Regions from separate parts of the Homo sapiens genome. Here region 2 is linked to region 1. The links are contacts of gene promoters, found by promoter capture Hi-C in blood cells and fetal thymus (Javierre and others, 2016). All regions are on one chromosome and are shown on one strand. Each heading gives the region's core, a stretch centred on a gene start or on the middle of the fragment in contact. The rest is flanking DNA. Distances are from core to core; before and after follow the strand shown. Region 1 holds the start of PHF21A (PHD finger protein 21A). Region 2 holds the start of MAPK8IP1 (mitogen-activated protein kinase 8 interacting protein 1).

Region 1 (6,166 bases), core at 2,658-5,157:
TGTAAATCCGAGGGGAAAAAACTACAAGAAGTCTAAAATTTTTTCAACACACTATACCCCTTTCCAAAATCTCAACTACTCTATATCCTATTTGTATTAATATTATAGGGATGATAACAAGGCTTAAAGCCCTAAATCATACCAACTACTTTTGTTTATAACAATTACAAATAATTTTTTAAAATACATGCTCAACATCCCACTCATCAACACAAGACTAATTCCCCTTCCAAATAAAATAATTCTAAACAGTGCTCTGTACCAAGGGCCAGAATCCTTATACTATCCGCAATCGCACATCTACTTTGTACAGTCAAAGACTTCACTTTCAAGTAGCAAACATTATTTATGAATGGAATTTTTAAATGGACTTACTCAAAATCTTTCTGGAACTTTAAGGTGTTAATCCTGTTGCTTAGCTGAAGCTAAGCAGAGCTGTAATAAGTAGCAAGACCCTCAAAATTCAAAAATTTCCTTTATCTTGCTGTAGCACCTCCTGCTGGATAGCATTTAGAGATCTTCATGTAAGCAGAAGAAGAGTATTTCAGAGGCAGCTCCTTCCAGAAGACTGAATAGGAAAAAGGATGGACCCTTCAAAGCTAAAAGAAATAGGCCCCATCCATCACTTATACCTTCTAAAAATACAATTTAGCCCAGGTAGGTGTCTTTTTCATCTATTACTACTCCAGTTCCACAAAGACTTGCCTCAGTCCAAAATACAACATGCTTAAATAAAGCCTGCAAAATTGTCTAAAAACTAAGTTAAAAAGCATTCAATAGCACCCAAGCAAAACACTTTATTATGGGCAGCCAAGCAATGTCAGTCAAACTGTAAATACTATTATGTTACCAAAAGCAAAAGTCTGATGTTAAAAAAAAAAAAAAAAAAGCCCCTGGAATATTCGTAACATGTTAGCCAGATGTTTGTGTTTTGAGAACTTTGTGCACTATTACTATGCTCTTCACTTAAGGATAGTTGTACATCTACAAACGTTTTAAGTACAGAAATTTTTTTATAAACATTAGCATAACTGTACACAAAATTTCCTCTTTGCCATGAAAAGATAGGTCCTGGGATTTGAAAATGTATTTTTCAGACATTTTTAATGACCCCCTAAAATAAACTAGTTTTAAGCCCACAACACCGATTCCATAAACAAGTAAAGACAGAAGAAGAGAATAAGAAGGAACTTACCAAAATTAAAATGAATAATAGTATTTCCAGTAAAAATGTAGTAACAGTTTCCAACAATGCTGTAAACCAAATAAATTGTGAAACTTAAAAAAGGAAGGAGGGGGCCAGTCTTCAAAGACCAAAAGCAAAGCTGACCTATTTATTTCTATTGCTTAGAGTGAACACCAGATGTAAACAAATATCATAAACACTGAAAAGTACGCTTACATGGTTTAGCCTCAATTTCAGTACCCTTACCAGGCCCTCAATAAAGCTACAGATGTTGGTGAGAACTCGCTCAAAAAGGAGATAATTCCAGCCCCTCGCCTTAAAGAATCCCTATCAAGTGAACCTGTGAAAAGACTTCCTTCCCAGAGTGCACAACTGCTTTAAAAAAAAAAAACTTTCATCAGCCCAAATTAATCTGATTCTAATATTCAACTATCCATTATTTATATATAAATGTTCTTCCCTCTCTAACTTTCCCAGCTCGAGCATCTACATTCCTGACACCGACTATTAGCAAAAATGCACAACTCCTTCCCCAGCTATGGGGCAAATCTTTGAAATCTGAAACACAGCCACAAAGTTCACTGTCAAGGCCAGGTGATGAGGCCCACACATGCCCGGACCTTCACTCAGATTTGAAATTCTAGAAATCCAGACTCCCAGAGACATCATTTTAAAAACAACACAATGTGGACGTGCAGAGTGAGATCCTCTACTTCCAGACCTAAACAAAGAATATTTCAACATATGACCGGAATATGATGACACCAGATTCACCAATGAAAACAAAACCTGCCGACCATTAGCAGTCGTACCCTCATCACAACAACTCAACTACTTAGAAATCACTCTCGGCACATCTGCACCCGACAACCGGCCTGTGGCCTTCTCCGGGGGTGCAAGCCACAGACAAAGTTGAAAGAAGGCGTTCTCCTCCGGTGCCCAATCTCGATACCAACCCCTCCCCTACCAGGGCCACCTTGCTGCTACCCACCATCGCGAACGTGGTCAGGGGAAAAAAAAAAAAAAGAAATCCTAACAGCACCGCTCAGCAGAATAAAGAGACCAAAGAGAGGATGACGAGAAGTGTTGGGAACTGCGTGCACGACGGGGCTGGACCAAACGGAAAGAGTCCCACTCCGCGCGCCCCTCCCCCCGGCGGGGGCGCGGGCGGGGGAGGGGCGGCCGCGGCCCCTCTCGGAGCGGCCTGTCCGCCCCGGCCCGCTCGGGGTCCCGGGGGCGCCCCGCGGCCGCCGGCGGCGGGGGCGAATGCGGGAGGGCCGGCCCCGGGGTGAGGGGTGCAGGCAGACTCTCCGGAATAACAAGTTGCAGAAGAAGAAGAATAAGCGGAATTTCCCCAACGCTGCTCCGGCCACCCAAGACAAATGCACCAACACACTCACACTCACACACACACAAACACACACACTGGGGCCCGGCAGCGTCAGCAGCCGCAGCTTTTTTTTTTTTAAACCAGATCCCTCAGTCAACAAACAAGATGGTTTTCCAAAAAAAAATTTTTTTTAATTAAATAAATAATCATAATAAAAACTTCCCCCCGACAGCATCCCGGGGTGGGGTGGGGGGGATGGAGGAGCCCCAGCTACCTCCCCGGCCGAGGGACAGCCGAGGGGGGGCGGGCGAGGCTCCGTGCCCCCCGCCCCCGCCCGCAGCCCCCGGCCGGCCCCCCGCCGGGACAATGTGACGCCCCCTCCCCGCCGCCCCCGGCACGCCGCCTCTGTCACCGGCTCCGGCCCTGCACTCTGCGCCCAGGCTTCCGAGGCTGCTCATAAACTTACTTCCAATTTATCCTGGGGAGGGGTGGAGGGCAGAGGGGAGGGGGGGGAGCCAAGGTTTTCCCATTGTCTTTTTTTTCGGGGGGGAGGTATGGGAAGGGCACGCAGGGGGGCGCCCCGAAGGGGAAGTTATTGCTCAAATCTCAAGTTGACTGAGGGGTCCTGACGAGAACACCCCCCTTTCCCTCCTCCCTCCCACACACCCCTCCCCTCCCCCTACCTCCCCCCACAACAAACTCCAAGCAGGCAGCCCCTGATCCTCCCAGAGACAAACACCAGCGACAAGACAGAGGGAGAGAGGAGAGAGGCAGAGGGGGAAGGGGGAGGGAGGGGAAATAGAGCTACTCCAGAAAAAAAGAGAGAGAGGAGAGTGAGAAGAAGAGAGAATGGAAAAGCTGGGATACTGCACCCTCCTGCTGCTGGCTGGCTGTCCCCCCTGGCAGCTGGAGGCAGGAACTCTGAGCAGGAGAAGCAGGAGGAGGAGGAGGAGGGAACTCTTCTTCATGGGGAGGGAGGGAAGAAGCTGGAGCTGCTGCTGCTGCTTCTGCTGCTGCTCTGGGCCTCTCGCACTTTTTAGATATTAGTGTGTTAAGATGGTAGGTTGTTCCCTTCTCCCTCCTCCTCCTCCTCCTCTCCTCTCCTCTCTCTCTCACTCACTCTCTCTCTCTCTCTCTCTCTGGGCTGTTTCTTTCCTCCTCTTCCCCAGGCAAGGGGGGGTGGGGAGGAGGGGGTTGGGGGGAGGAACTGGATCCTCCTCCTCCTCCAGGAGGGACACACACAGGCCCCGGGCCGGAATCGGGAGGGGGGAATCAGAGCAGCAGGAGAGAAACTGTAGGAGACAAACAAGCCCAACTCTTCATCCTCCTCCTCCTCTCAGCAGCAGCAGCGAGCACCACCAGCCCATTCACCACCCGGCCCCGGGCCGCAGCACCTCCGCCGCCTCAGCCCGGGGATCCCTCCGCCCAGGCCCAGACACACTCGCCCGCGCGGGAGCCCGCCGCGCGGCCCCGCCGGCCCGCCGCCGCCGCCGCCGTGCGCGCCCCCGCCGCTCCCGAGAGCCGGGCGAGAGGGACTGGGGCTGGGAAAGCGGGGACGAGGGCGAGGGGAGAGGAGGCGCCGGGGGAGAGCGGGCCGCGGCGGGGAGGGAGGGGGCCGCCGGGCGGAGTGGTACGGCGGCCGGCCCGGGCCCCCGCGCCTCGGCCCGCGGCTCCCGGGACGCTCGGGTCCCCCCACCGGGGGCGGTGGGGCGTCGGCGGGGGGGGCGACGGGGGCCCGCGGCGGCGCTCGGGCGGGCGGACTACTTGACGTGTCGGTGCGGCGAATTTATTTCACTTTGCCTAAGGAACGGGGTGTGCTGCGGCACCCATTGCCTAGGGAAAAAACCCGGATGTAAAGTGAGTGAAACTAAACTAGAGTGAAGTAGGGCAGCGGCAGCCAAACTCCAGTGCAGCGGCGGCGGCGGCGGCGGTGATGGGGCCGAGCACCGAGCGGCGGCGAAGGCAGCCAAACTCCGGGGCCCGTGCAGCGCCGCAGCTCGGCTCCCGTGCAGCCGCAGCCGAGGCGAGGCCGGAGCCCGCGGCGGCCCCCCCAACTCCGCGGCCCGAGCCCAACTCCCCCCTCCCGCCGGCGGGAGCTGCAAAGGGGCTCCAGAGCGGCCCCAACTCCCTCCAGTGCAACAGCAGTTTGAAGGGGGGGGGGGAAAGCCGTGAGGGGCAGGAGCGAGGAGAAGTGATGGGGAAGCACTGCAATGGGGGAGCGTGGTCCAGGCAACAGGAGAAAGATGCAACCTCAAGTCGAATGCAACATGCAATCCCCGGCCGCCGCTCGCCCGCTCCCTCCCCTCGCCACCCCGCCCCCTTTCCAAATAACTACCCTTGAACCACTTTATTAGCAGTACTTAGTCCAGCACTCGCTCCCGGGAGGGGCGGGGGACGGGGGCCTTCGCTCACCTTTATTTATTGCTGCTTTCTCCCCCCTCTCCATGTTTTTTATTCCTAAGTTCTTTTGTTCTAAGGGGGATGATGGCATTTACTTTTCTGCTTTGTGTAGCAGGGCAATCACTGGGAATCGGCCACGTATAATCCGGCGGTTTGTCATATTTTATTAGTGAAAGTATTTTATGCCTATTCTACCTCCAAGGACTGTAACATGGAGAATTGCAGGGAGGAGAAAAACATCAGAAGAATTCTTGTTTTGAGAGATTTCTTGGCGGGGCGGGGGAGGGCCTTTTTTTTTTTTTTTGGAGGGGGTTTATTTAGATTTTCGAATCGATAGTTTTCAACTTGAAGCTTAACGTTTTTGTATGGATGTATTACCGGATTCTAAACCCCCAACCACAATAAATTTTTTAAAAGTAAAAAATCTTAGATTAAAAAAAACCCCTACTGGACAGTGATATTATCTGATCTGTGCAGCACTCTGGACTTAACATAGTGTTGGCCTTCGAATGTTAAATAACAATAAACCCCAACCTCAACTGAATACAAATGGGGGGGTGGGGGGTTTTGTTTTTAAAGCTCAGCACTTTTGTAGCAACTGCCACTACGCATTTTCCAGGCATTGATTAGCCATGCAACTCCCATAGGCATGAAATCCAGTTTTTGCAGATAAAGAGCAACAGTGGTGAGATGATTTGCCCAAAGTCAAAGTGAGTCATTCGCAGAACCAGAAATAGCCTTGGACTTTACTAGTCACATCTTTTCCATTAAATAATATTTCTATTACCTTGTTATGTATTTTCACAAGAGGTGCTTTGAGATCATTGGATATGAAGGTATTTTTTTACTTTCGTGACCTGCAAAATTAAGTTTAGTTTCTCAAGAAAAAGCAATTTTTAAAAATTCTGATTTCTTAAAAAATAAAATATGGACTTTATGGTACATGTGTAGGCCATTTAGTAGTCTGAGCTTTATGTTAAAAAAAATTCACAGCAGCGAAAGTGTAAGAGTTTGAGAGTGAAAATGAAAATTCCTATAAATGATTCAAGAAGCCTAGATGAACTCATAATGTTGTGAAACTAAACCCATAACGCAGTCAAGATGAATAACGGGAGGACAGGTTGGGTAGTAAGACCCAGCTTTACCATCTAGAGCTAACTGTAATGTATTTAAAATGAGGGAGGGGGTCTTTCAAGCTGGACCCACTGGCCAGTCACTGGAACTATAACCTAATGGTGTGATTTCAAATC
Region 2 (6,166 bases), core at 2,673-5,172, 240 kb before region 1:
CTCAGAGCCTACCCAGGAGCTGTGAAGGGGCAAGGGTCAAACTGACTCACTCTACCAGGAGGAGACCAGGTTGCAGTGGCGTAAGGCCCCCTGGTTTCTCTGGCCACACTCCAAGGCACCACAGTGCTGCCAGTGAGGACAGCTGACACCCAGCCAGGGAAACCATTCTAGTCTTTATTCTGTTGGCTTCCAGGGCCTGTCCTGGACTTGTCAGCATCCAGACTGCCATGTCAGCTATCCCAGTAGCTGAGCTCCAAGGACTCAGGCAGAGGGACTCAGGGATGGGGACTGCCAGGGGCAGTTGGCAAAAGTCCAAGTAGAGATTACACCCAGAACACCATTCCTTCCAGGAGCAGTAGGTGGGAGGTTTGACCCAGAGAAGCCAATCCTTGCATTCCAGGAGTGGCCTGTGCCTCCCACCTCTTCCTTCCCACTGCCAAAGGCCTGTGTTGAGAAAGATGTCATGCAAAAGGACGACGGTGGCCAACTAAAGCAAGTCTTCCTTCCACCCTGTGGCCTGCACTTGAGCCACAAAGTGTGTGTGTGTGTGTGCGTGTGTGGTACGTGTGTGTGTGTGTGGCTATGAGGCTGATTCCTGTTTGGATTTTTGTCCTCACGTGTATCATTAAGCTGGCCTTTGGGCCTTTTCCTTTCTACCTCCCCTGTGACCTTTCCTAGCCTCAGATCTGTTAATTCTTTTGGCCCCAGCCCTGTCCCTCACTGTCCTCTGTCCTTGGACCAGAACCCTGGGGTCAGACCCATCTCCTGTAGCTGTCCATCACACTGACAGGCTTCTTCCTGAGATATCCTCAGGTTTTCTCAGCCAGAGAGCTGCCTTTAGAGTCCAACTGTTGTACGTATGTCACCTTCACTAGAAATGTCCCATCATCGTGGGAGGGGAGCAGGGCACAGGGGATGGTGTGCATTCAGAGCATTGGGTTGGGGGCTTCCCTGTTCCCTCAGCCCCAGTCGAGAGGAAAGAGAATCGGGCCACTGCCAGAAAGAGAGTCAAGCAAACCTGGAAGGGCAAATCTGAGAGTGGGAAGGCCAAAGGCCGAGGCCCAGATTTAGTATTCACTAGCAGCGCCTTCGGGTAGCAGGATGATTCCTTTTCCTGCCTGTCTGCTGCTGGCTCTCTTCCCTAAGGTACAGGTTGGCAGGACCACCTCCGCCTACTTCTCCACCATCCCTAGCATGTCAGCCCGTTCCCAGATCAACCTGCCAGTGGAGTCAGGCAGTGCACTCCTGGAGCCAAGAGGGAAGGGCAGGGTAGAGAGGGTATGTCCAGTAGCCTGGAGCTCCATGGTGGCTTCATGCCTCCCTTCTCCCAGCTCAGGTGGCCCTGAGGGCTCCCTCGGAACAGTGCCTCAAATCCTGACCCAAGGGCCAGCATGGGGAAGAGATGGTTGCAGGCAAAATGCACTTTATAGAGATTTTCTATTGCTGGGAAGGTGTGTTTCTCCCACAATTTGTTTGTGAATATTCACTTGTTTTATAAATGTCTGACCTGTCTTGAGTAAGTTTGTGCTGTCGTCAATCTTGTGGGAGGCCTGGGAACCAGGGTTTTGGTAAGCCTGAGCCTGAATGAAGCTGTCGGCCACCCCATCTTGGTTCTGTGGGAGTCAGGAGCCTCCTATTCCTCCTTAGGAAGGGGGAGCAGCCAGAGCAGACTGGAGCAGCTTGGTCAAGAGTTGGTCCAGAGCTTGGTCAAGAGTTGGGGGTCAATTGGCCAAAATAGTACAGAGCACTCTGGCCCAGAGTGAGGGTCCTAAGTGCCATCCTGCAGTGCCACCCAGCCTTGCAGCCCACTTAAACCCCCTCCCAGGCTGGGGGTCAGTCAGTGCAGGGCCTGCTCCACGCCCTCAATCCATCCTTTAATTCAATGCAGCCACTTAAGCTGCAGCCTGTGGTGAGGAGGGGATGCAGGCTCTCTGGCTGTGACTAGGTGGTTGAGATCTGCCCACAGCCAAGCCTAGGGCGCCTGGATGCTGGCTTTGTCTCCTGGCCAGAGAATGGCCCCTCTCTGTGCAGTGTGCCCTGCTTCCATGCTAGGGGATGCTAGCCTTGGACTGAAAGCTTTATTAGCTCACACCCCAACTTTCTGGGAAGGGGCCCAGGCAAGGCCCAAGAATATCACAGTCTGGCCTGCACAGAGTGAAGAAGGAGAAAAGGGGAGGAACCTGCCTTGGGAACTTGTCTCATTCTTGGCTCTGCTCTGAAGCTCCTGCTGGCCTCCCTCATACCAAGACCTGGGCCTGCCTTTCCTTCTTGCCCTTCTGGCTTCTCTCTAATAATGGCTTTGGGTTGGTCTTTGGAGCTAAGATAACTTTGCTCTTGAGCAAAAGGTTCTGGAAGAGGGAGTTGTCCTTTACATCCACCCCTGACCTGCTAAGGATGTTCCCTAGCTGAGGCAGGTCTACATTCTAAGGAACGATTAGTAGCCATGATGGCAAGACTGCTTTCCTGAGAGGAAAAGCCAGGCACCATGGCAGCAGATGATTACCGTGAGGGCCCAGTGAAAGGGGCCTGATCACGAAAGCTGAGAAAGTAGTGGCCACCCCTCTGGGCCCCAGGGACAGGGAAAAGAGAAGCAGCCATGACCTTTGGCTCTAGGTATTGGGATATTCTCAGGGCTGGTGGTCGGAGGTTGCCTTCTGCACGGAAGGTGCCTCCAGCTCCTTGCTAGGTGCCGCACTGAAGGAAAGGGGCCAGCATGACTGGTCGGCAGTCCAGATTTGCAAATAGGACTCCACGAGTTGTGGCACAGTTTGCTCTGCACGTTTTCTGCCCTGTGGACAGGGTCTCTAGGGTTCTCTCGAGAGACCAGAGAAGCCAATGAGGTTTGACCAGAGGCTCTACGACCCAGCAAAGCTAAGGCCCTAGCCTTGGCAGTCCGTACTCTGAAATAACTCAATCGGGAAACTCAGGGACTTGAAGGCCTGGAAGCCCAGGAATAACACCCTCTCGAGGGAGAGACAATGAGGAAGAAGCCATGGCCAAAGCCTAGCAGGGATGGAGGTGCCAGAGGGAACAGAAACAACCAAAATGATCCCAAGAAGTCAACAGTGGGAGGAGAGGGAAAGGCGCCAAGTCTTAGAATGTGTGTCTGTGGGTGCAGAAGAGGGGTGCTCTGCAGGAAATGCAGTTGAGGCGCTAAGAAGGAGAATGCTGGGAAGGTCCTGGCGAGAGACCGAGAAGCCTGGAGGGCTCAATTCACCACGAGTAGCTGTTTGGGGCTGAAGAGAGATTTGGGTCAATCTTTAGAGAAGACAGCCTCTAGGGAGAGTCTTTGGGAGGGTCCCCTCAAGGTAAAGGGACAGGACTGGGGTGAGGGCTGGATCCCAGCGCAGGAGGTGGAGTGTTTCTGGGTCTCAGGCAACACATTTGTGTTACGTTACATTCTCACAACAACCATGAGAGGGACTGCTATTGTCCCATTTCACAGATAAGAAGACCAAACCTTAGTGCTCTGAAGTCACTAATGCAAGGCCCCACTGCCCAGTCACTTGTGGAGCCAGTGAATTCACACCACCTGACTCCAAACCTGTACACTTTAAGAGCCCACTGACATCCTCTCCTTTCTCTGCCTTCCTCCACGACCCTCCTTTTCCGCCTGCCTTCTTGGTCTCTGCTGCGGGGGGCCAACCTGGACCTTGGGGTCCAGTGTCCTGCCATTAGTCATCTGATACCCGGGCACTAAGCCCAACCGGAGGGACAAAGCCCACACCGGCCACGGGGTGGAGGAGAGTCGATGTCGGATTTAGGGCGGGGCTGAACCAAGCCCAGGGCCGCGGGGGCCGTGGCTTCAGCACCGCGGAGAGCGCCATCTCCGGGGGCGGGGCTGGCGGGGTGGGGGCGGGGCCTGGGCGGGGCGCGCGAGACCCCGGCCGGGTCCCGGGGGCGCGCGCGGGGCGCTCTCGCCAGTCCCGCGGGCCGTGCGCGGTGCTGTGCCGCGCCCTGCCAGACACAGGTGCGCCCGCCTAGCCCGAACTCCGCGGCGGCGGCTGCCCTCTCGCCGCGCCTCCGCCTCCTTCGCAGCCGCCGCCTCCTCCGCGCCGCGCTCCGCCCGGATGGCCAGGGCTGTGCCCGAGAATGGCGGAGCGAGAAAGCGGCGGCCTGGGAGGGGGGGCCGCGTCCCCGCCCGCCGCCTCCCCGTTCCTGGGGCTGCACATCGCTTCGCCTCCCAATTTCAGGTGAGAGTCCCCGGCCGCCGCGCGCCTCGCCCTTCAGCGGGGACTGATCCGCATTGGCTGCCCTGCCCGCCCCCCACCCCAGAACCTCGGGAACCCGGGAACGAAAGGGCTGCGTGGGAGTGGGGTCTCTTCCCGGGACAGAGCCCCCCTCAGAAGCCCCGCCAGCCTCAAGTCCGGACTGGTAGCCGTTGCATGTTCACGAGGCTGTTCCCTCCGCCATTCCTGGTCCTAGGCTGGGAGGTCTGCGCTGGAATTGGAGGAGGGGGCTCGGAGGCCTCCTTCTCCCCAACCTCCGGGCTGCGGCAGGGTCTGGGGTCGGGGTTGCGATCCCGGAGCGGGCAGGCAGGCTGCATCTTAGCCTGTGAATAGAGCTGGGAACAGCCTGGAGGGGCGCGGGTCGCAGTTTCCTGGGGCAACGACATTGTTGGTGCTGGGAGGAGGATGTTTGAGCCCCTCCCCGAGCCCTGCCTGGCCAGATGGGCCTACCTGCCAGGCCTGGCGTGGCCGGGCCCCTCTCTGGATTGGGCAGCACCGACCTAGGCAGGTGTGTCTCTCAGGGCAGGCGCTGAAGGCTCAGCCTCAACCAGGGGAATCCTAGGCCCGGCTGCGGGAAGGGAAGTCGGCTCGGCTCTGGAGTAGCCAGGGCCAGCGAGGGTGTCGAGGGGATCCCTGCTGGGGTAAATACCCAGAACCCTGACCTGAGCTCCTATTCCACCACCCCCACCCCCCAATCTGGTGTTAGGCCCGATGCATTTCAGAGAAGTGAGGGGTGAGTGTTGTGTGGAGGAGGAATAGATGTACCTCCCCCATAATTCTGAACCCTAGTTGGTGGGGAGGAAGAGGCCGAAGTCACTGCTCCCGGCCTAGAGAGGGAGGCTTAGACATACCCCATTGTTTCCCCATCTCGAGAACTGGCGCCTTCCCCTCTCCTGGGGCACCACCCCAGCCAGGCTCCAGCTGGGCTGTGGTGCCAGCCCCTCCTGGGAGCAAGGGGTCACTGGCTCCCAGGTCCTCAGGTGGGCAGAGACCCCTGGGGATCTCTAATAGCATCATCAAACTCAGAAACCTTCCCTGAGGCCCTGAGCTGAGCTGGAAGGACCAGAGGGGGCCAGATGGAGGAGGCCAGGCCTGAAGGCTCCAGGGCTGCAGCTCTCTGATAATGCCTTAGACTGAGGTCTGAGACTCCACCTGGCATGGTGCATGAGGCCTCCATGCAAATACTGCCTCCCCACCTGGAGGCCTCTGCAGTGGAAGCACATGGGGCTTAGAGGGACCTGGGTTCAAATCCTAGCTCCACTACTTTCTAACTGCATGACCCAGGCAGGTTTTTGTCCTCTCTGGGTGCCATCTGTTAAGTGGGCTAATTAATATTGATTCTTGCCTGGAAAGGAGAAAAAGCACATCAGGTCAGTGTTCAACAAGTGTCAGCCCCCACACTAGCAGACAACACTACGGCTCGCTGCTGTCCAGAGTGTCTTCCCAAGGCCCCTCCTTTAACCCTCATAACTGCCCCAAGAGAGGGTAGTGACCTGCCCATTTTATAGATGAGGTGATTGAGATTAACAAAGGCAGGGTGGCTCATCTGGAGACTACAAAAGAGTCAGAGACTAAGGCTACACTGGGACCCAGGTCTGTGCGTGTTTAGTCCACTCTACGTCCCAGCCCTGCCTCTGGCCCAGTGGGCAGCTTTTCTTCCTCGACCTGCTTCCCCAGGTGTCATAGATGCTTTAATGAGAGGAGCTGAGGAAGCAGACACCAGCCAGTGAATGTGTGGCCAGCTCTGCGGCATGTGGGACAAGGGTGGCAGTAGGCCACGAGGCTGAGGTGTGGGCCAGCACTCCAGAACATGGTGGCCTGGCTGCGGAGACAAGGCCAGTGCGTGGGAATAATAAGCGTCAGTGTCTCAGGCCCTGCCGGCCTGCCCCGCTGCTCCCAAAGCCCCCGCTGCCCTTTCTCCTGGCCCGCCTCTCACT

Evidence for each region. The method cuts DNA at HindIII sites, captures the fragments that hold promoters and counts their contacts. A CHiCAGO score of 5 or more calls a contact.
Region 2: the fragment with the promoter of MAPK8IP1 here is called in contact with the fragment with the promoter of PHF21A in region 1 in 1 of 17 cell types (naive B cells); the score reaches 7.8 in naive B cells.

Annotation. Positions count from the first base shown.
Region 1 is chr11:46,117,547-46,123,712 of GRCh38, forward strand. It overlaps PHF21A (PHD finger protein 21A), which reads right to left and starts at 3,908. Exons shown (of 19, transcript NM_001352027.3): 1 at 3,389-3,908. LOC105376661 (a long non-coding RNA gene) reads left to right here and starts at 4,599. Exons shown (of 3, transcript XR_931252.4): 1 at 4,599-6,166. RefSeq lists silencers at 1,967-2,124, 2,308-2,367, 2,438-2,517, 3,931-3,990, 4,431-4,740. The HindIII fragment of the contact is 5,748 bases long and covers 1-5,265 here.
Region 2 is chr11:45,881,729-45,887,894 of GRCh38, forward strand. It overlaps MAPK8IP1 (mitogen-activated protein kinase 8 interacting protein 1), which reads left to right and starts at 3,923. Exons shown (of 12, transcript NM_005456.4): 1 at 3,923-4,193. The coding sequence starts at 4,093. CRY2 (cryptochrome circadian regulator 2) reads left to right here. Exons shown (of 12, transcript NM_021117.5): 12 at 1-1,516. RefSeq lists a silencer at 3,785-4,184. The HindIII fragment of the contact is 6,698 bases long and covers 2,075-6,166 here.